2 separate regions of the Homo sapiens genome follow, and region 1 is linked to region 2. Evidence: promoter capture Hi-C in 16 types of primary human blood cells and fetal thymus (Javierre and others, 2016). All regions are on one chromosome and are shown on one strand. Each heading gives the region's core, a stretch centred on a gene start or on the middle of the fragment in contact. The rest is flanking DNA. Distances are from core to core; before and after follow the strand shown. Region 1 overlaps PDE1A (phosphodiesterase 1A). Region 2 holds the start of DUSP19 (dual specificity phosphatase 19).

Region 1 (3,048 bases), core at 231-2,730, 890 kb before region 2:
AAGAAAGAAAGAAAGAAAGAAAGAAAGAAAGAACAATTAAAGAAATTGACAGAGATCCAGAGCATCCAGGACAATTTCCAGAATCCTAAGTTATGCATAACACAATCCTCAGAAGGAGAGAACAGAGAGAAAGAGGCAGAAGAAAAATATTGAACAAAATGACAGAAAGCTTTCTAAATTTGAAGCAAATTATTAATTTGTGGATTTAAGAAGCTAGTGAACACTAAGTAGAATACTGAAAAAAAAAAAGACCTAGATATATCATCATCAAATTGCTGAAAGTCAAAATAAAGTCTAGAAAACAGAAAGAAAAAGATAATACTCAGTACATACAAGGAAGCAACAATACAATTTATTTTTGGCCAACACTATCAGAAACTATGGAAGCCAGAGGCAATAGAATTACACATTAAAAGTGCTAAAATAAAAAAAAATCATTCAACAATTCTAAATCAAGTAAAATTATTCATAAATAAAAGTAAGATACAGACATTCCCAGATAAAGAAAATCTAATTGTTTGTCAGTATAACTGTGTTATAAGAAAATACTTGAGAAAGTACTCCAGTGTGAAGAGAAATGATACCAAATAGTAGCTCTGACACACAAGAAGAAATGAAGAATATCATAAGGGTAAATATGTGAGAACATACAAAAGATTGCATATACGAATGTGTGTGTCTGCCATCTGTCAAGTTCTGCAGGAATTAATGTGCTATTTTTGGCTCTCTGGTCTATTCCCAAGGCCCATCTTATTATCTCTATATCACAGCCACACTAAATTTATTACTTCAGTATAAGAGTAAATTTTGATATATGGCAAGTGCTCCCACTTTATTATCCTTCAGGAGTGTCTTGAGTATTCTTAGGTATTTGCAATACCATATAGATTTTAGGATCAATTTCTTAAATTCCATGAAAAATGTATTGGAATTTTCACTGGAAACATGTTATATTTATGGTTGACATTTGGGATAATTGAAAACGTTTCAATATTGTGTCTTTCTGACTATAAATATGATTTAACACTCTATTTTGATCTTATATTATCCATTTTAAGAAAAGTAAGTTTATTCCTGAGTATATTAAAGCTGCAAAAAACACAAGGAAAAAATTTCTGGCTGAAAAAATAACTACAAAGACCCTGGAGTATTTTAAGAAACTTCCAAGAGGCCATTGTGCAGGGAGTGTAGTGTATAAGGGAGACAGAGCTGTGGGAATGAGTGTGAGAAGAGGCAGGGGCCAGATCTGGATATGAAAGCTAATTCCTGCACGAAAGATAATAACTGTTTGAATACTAACTCACAAACCTACTAAATGGACTAATTAATTTGAAGCAGCTAATATGTCAGAAATAACTGTAGCTACCTTCCCATGCGATTGCTGTGGTGGTTGATTACTAATGATTTCCCCAATTCCTGTCTAAATTCTGAGTCAAAAAAGCAACTTAGTGAAACAGAAAAAAAACACACCCAAGTCTCTGACATGAAGTGATAACACACTTAATGCAACACAAAAGCCACTTACCAAGTAAAATCCAGGCTGGAAAGCACCTCTACGAAAGCACAGGAGTTTATATGGTACCACAAAGTTTTGTCACCATTTCATTATCTCATCTTTCAGTATCCAGTTTGCCAGCACCCACTGACACACAGATCTGCAGCCCATGTGGCACAAACAAACCAGAACCTCTTTTTATCTAATAAATGAGCCAACTTTCTCATGAATGATCAAAGAGTAGCCAAATTCCCAATACCATCAAGGGCTTACATATTCTATAGAAGAAGAAATCTAGAAGAAGTAATCCAAACTCTTAGAGGAGAAGTGAAGACAGAGAGAGATGGCAGTAAGGCCTCATAAACAACACTACCTTGTGCAGCTAACTCTTTCCACCTCTCTTTGTTCTGCTGAATGATGTCCACCAGGTTGTTCTTGAAACTCTTCAGGTCCACTGCTGCAAGGGAGTAGTCTGGGGAATAGGACCCATCACTCATGGAGCCTTTTGTATTTGATCGTCTTAGTGCATCAGCAATGTGTAACCCCACAATGGTGGTTGAGCTAACAGTAACAACCAAAGAAACCAAAAAACACCATCAGGATATGGGGTGAACAAGGAAAACCTGAAAAACTTTACAAAACCGACTAGAAAAGCAGGATAGTAGATGCTCAGTCCCAGTTCTGAGCACGTGGCAGCTGCTCATCTCCTTTCTCTCCCTCCCCACACTGGATTCTCCTTAGTACACACCTTACTTAGTATTTCATATTTTGTGTATTAAACTTCAGTTGTCAAAGGCAGATGCAATATAATATAAAGCCACTAGGTGGCAATACTCCCTAATAATTCTTGTGAGAATTCTCTGCCTAGATGTGAGAAATATAATCATTAAGGAAAGTGTTACTAAACACCACAAAGATGAAAAATAATGCAAAAAAGAAAATATCATACCTGCTTGCCACATAGGAAGAAGTTTCGGCTTTTGAGGCTTCCTCTATAAGAGGAATAACAATTTTCTCTGTTGAGTCTGTCAGAAGAGAAAATGTTGGCTCTACTATGAAATCGATGAAACCTACAAAAGCCAAAATGAGAAGAGAGAGAGATAAATTCAAGTGTTACAATTTCCTGAATTCTGAAATCAGAAATAATGAAGAGCTTCTGACAATCCTGGGATAGCAAGAATCAACTAAAATATTGGTTCTGCTTACCCTTTGTATTGTTTTAATCTAATAACAGTCTTTAGAGATGGTTTAACTGCTCTATAAAATAATACTTGAAGCCATGGAAGTGACACAATTTAAGCTTGCTAACTCAAGTATATTGGCTTTTCTATTTACTATTCAGCCTTATATAATATACGATTGCTAACAATACATTTAGATCCAATGAGAGTGACTATAGTTTCCTCTCTCAACACCAGGGATCATTATCTTTTTTGAAAGCACATCATGTGCATTTTGGATTTTATTCTTTACTAACAAGAAATCATATCTAAGCTCCAAAGAAATTAAATAATTGAAGGTTTTTCTCAGGTAACAGGAAGACAATTACTTTT
Region 2 (3,118 bases), core at 547-3,046:
GCAAATAATCTCTTCAGTTTTTCATTTTAGGACATCCTGTAGATAGCCTGAGCTTATATATATATATATTTTTCTCTCTCTTTCTTTTTCTTTTCTTTTCTTTTTTTTTTTTTTTTTTTTTTTTGAGACAAGGTCTTACTCTGTTGCCCAGGCTGGAGTACAGTGGCATGATCATGGCTCACTGCAGCCTCAACCTCCTTAGCTCAGGTGATCCTCCCACCTCAGCCTCCCAGGTAGCTGAGACTACAGGCACGTGCCACCAAACCTGGCTAATTTTTTGTATTTTTTAGTGGAGTTGGGGTTTCATCATGTTGCCCAGGCTGGTCTCGAACTCCTGGGCTCAAGCAATCCACCCATTTTGGCCTCCCAAAGTGCTGGAATTACAGGCATGCGCCACTGTACTGGGCCTATTCCTTTTTCAAGAGGGAGAAGTTTGGTTTATATCTCAGTTTGCTCAGGCTGCTCTAACAAAATGCCATAAACTTTGTTGCTTAAACAACCGAAATATATTTTCTTACAGTTCTGGAGGCTGAGAAGTCCAAGATCAAGGTGCTGGCCTATTCAGTTCCTGCTGAAAGCTCTCTTCCTGGCTTGCAGACAGCCAGCTTCTCCTTATGTCCTCATACTGTCTTTCCTTGGTCCATATAGGGGAGCAGGCAGATTTCTTTCAGTTCTCCTGAAGCCACTAAACCCATCATGAGGACCCTACCCTAGGGTCTTAGTCTAATCCTAAATTACATCCCAAAAGTCCCATTTAAATACCATCACCTTGAGGTTTAAAGCTTTAACATATGCATTTTGAAGGGACAGAAATAGTCAATCCATAACAGTTGAATTTTTTTATGTCAGAAAGTTTCAACAACAACACAAATTTTAATATGTGGTATTGGAAGAAAAGTTTTCATAAGTGCAACTTCTTCATTTTATATATGTGTTTATACATTGTGTTGAAATTCATTTAAAATTACATTTACTTTAATAGGGGTTTGAAAAATTTCTCTTTAAAGGAATCTTGTGATTTCTTTTGCAAAACTTTTTTTTGGTAATCAGAATCATCGTTCTATAATTTATTTATCTGTTTTACAAATTTGGATGCTTACACAATTGATTTTCTTAATTCTTCGTATGGATGGACTTGCTGCAATTCTTATTTAGGATGTATATTTACTGTATGAAATGAAAATGTAGGCTGAAAGTCAGAAAATAAATAAATTTTAAGCTCTTGTCAATCTACATATATGAGCATAAATTTTAAAAAATATATCTTTTTTCCCAGTTTATTTAAATTGTTGCCTCACAAATACGCACAACAACTTTATCTAGTAAACGTTCCTCTTGCATTAACAGCAAAAGCAGAAGGTGTGAAGGATACAGGAAGCGAGAAATAACTTTTAACGTCTGCTCTAGCCCTCCTGGACTAGCCTAAAAGCAGACAGGCAGGAAAGGCTTTGGGACATAGGGTGATTTGCAAGGTGACTCCGCCGGTCTCTTTCAAGCGGGAGCGATACACAGGTCAGCCCGGATCGTCCATGGTCACTGCCGTAAGTGACACTAACAGAATATATCAGAAAATCACTGCCTTTAAAGAACCAGGACATATCATTCCTCTCTCCAACGAAGTCTTATATTTTACCATTCTGCGTGTATTAGAAAGCTAAATTTAAACAGCAACAATAAGAAATCTTCCCCAGTGGATCCCTCGAGCCTTTCGGGAAAATGCAGGTTTCTGGCTGACAGGAAGAAGAAACAGCATCCAATCGGCACTTGTGTCTCAATGACCAATCAAATTTCGCCTTACATTGCATCGCTGGGATAAACGGAGCTGGACGACTCAGTCTCTTGGTCTGTGGCTGCTGCGGTTACCTGGATGGGCGAGCACCTCTGAGGCTGGCTTTGTTACCTGGGCAATAAGGGACTAGCAGTTCAGCCGTTTTCTATGCCTGCTGGATTTGTTTGTATTTGTTCCCAGCCACTGCTCATGTAATGTACTCCCTTAACCAGGAAATTAAAGCATTCTCCCGGAATAATCTCAGGAAGCAATGCACCAGGGTGACAACGCTAACTGGAAAGAAAATTATAGAAACATGGAAAGATGCCAGAATTCATGTTGTGGAAGAAGTAGAGCCGAGCAGTGGGGGTGGTTGTGGTTATGTGCAGGACCTTAGCTCGGACCTGCAAGTTGGCGTTATTAAGCCATGGTTGCTCCTAGGTGAGTATATCGACTTGCCACTAGATCATTGAGTCCTTTTAGCCAGATTACGTTCTCATTTTCCCCCTTTATGCGTAATAGTCTGTATTATCAGCTATCCTGCCGAAAAGCTGAACTGTTTCCTTTTTTGGATATGGAACTTCCATTAGCCAGCTAGAGCCGTTTCTGCCTCACAGTGTACCCATAAGAAGCATAGATGCTATTCTCGTAGCACTTGGCACTGCATATTTGAATTTTAGAAAAGCTTTCTTCCCGTTTCTCTAACTTCTCTGGAGAATAACACATTGATGTTGTGTTTTCTTGGCTTATAAAAAATACAGCTTGAAAAAAAAGGAATGAAAAAAGAATGTTTGTATCAGGCAGAACTACAAGTGACAATGGTTAAAGTTATAGAAAAGTTAATACTCGAAATAGTCCTGTGCTTGCTGGCCTGCGCAGCTCTTACAGACCGTGCGGAATACATGCCTCCTGTGGCCACGTCTGTTCATGGTGTCTGTTTTTGGAGTGTTTAAGAGAAGGAGATCTTAAGATCTTATGATTTATTTCGTATTATGGAAATACTGAGCCCCTATACAAGCATAGTTCACAAATAGCAAATGAAGCAAGGTTATAAAAGTGCAAACTTGTTAATTTGGCAAGAATATGGTATGGTGTTCTTAAAAAAATAGTCAAGAATGTTTTCAAGTACGTCTGAATTATTTCTATTTATGAATAGAGAAATTAAGACTTGGAAAGACTAAATGACTTATCACTATGCAGCTAAGGCATTCTTGAATAGAGAGAAGACTGAGAAATAGCCCAGGTGCTGTTCACCTAGTGTCTTACTCCTTTGAGGAATCCTGTGAAGTAGGGATTATCAGCTTTGTTTTACAAATAGAAACCAGGATTTAAAATTGGTGAAGTAATTTA

Evidence for each region. The method cuts DNA at HindIII sites, captures the fragments that hold promoters and counts their contacts. A CHiCAGO score of 5 or more calls a contact.
Region 1: a contact is called between a fragment that was not itself captured here and the fragment with the promoter of DUSP19 in region 2, in 2 of 17 cell types (total B cells and total CD8 T cells). The highest score is 6.7, in total B cells.

Annotation. Positions count from the first base shown.
Region 1 is chr2:182,184,024-182,187,071 of GRCh38, forward strand. PDE1A (phosphodiesterase 1A) reads right to left here. Exons shown (of 15, transcript NM_001363871.4): 12 at 2,445-2,565; 13 at 1,869-2,056. Among named protein-coding and RNA genes, the nearest start is that of PPP1R1C, 200 kb to the left of the region's middle. The HindIII fragment of the contact is 2,626 bases long and covers 168-2,793 here.
Region 2 is chr2:183,076,951-183,080,068 of GRCh38, forward strand. DUSP19 (dual specificity phosphatase 19) reads left to right here and starts at 1,797. Exons shown (of 4, transcript NM_080876.4): 1 at 1,797-2,209. The coding sequence starts at 1,984. The HindIII fragment of the contact is 1,671 bases long and covers 781-2,451 here.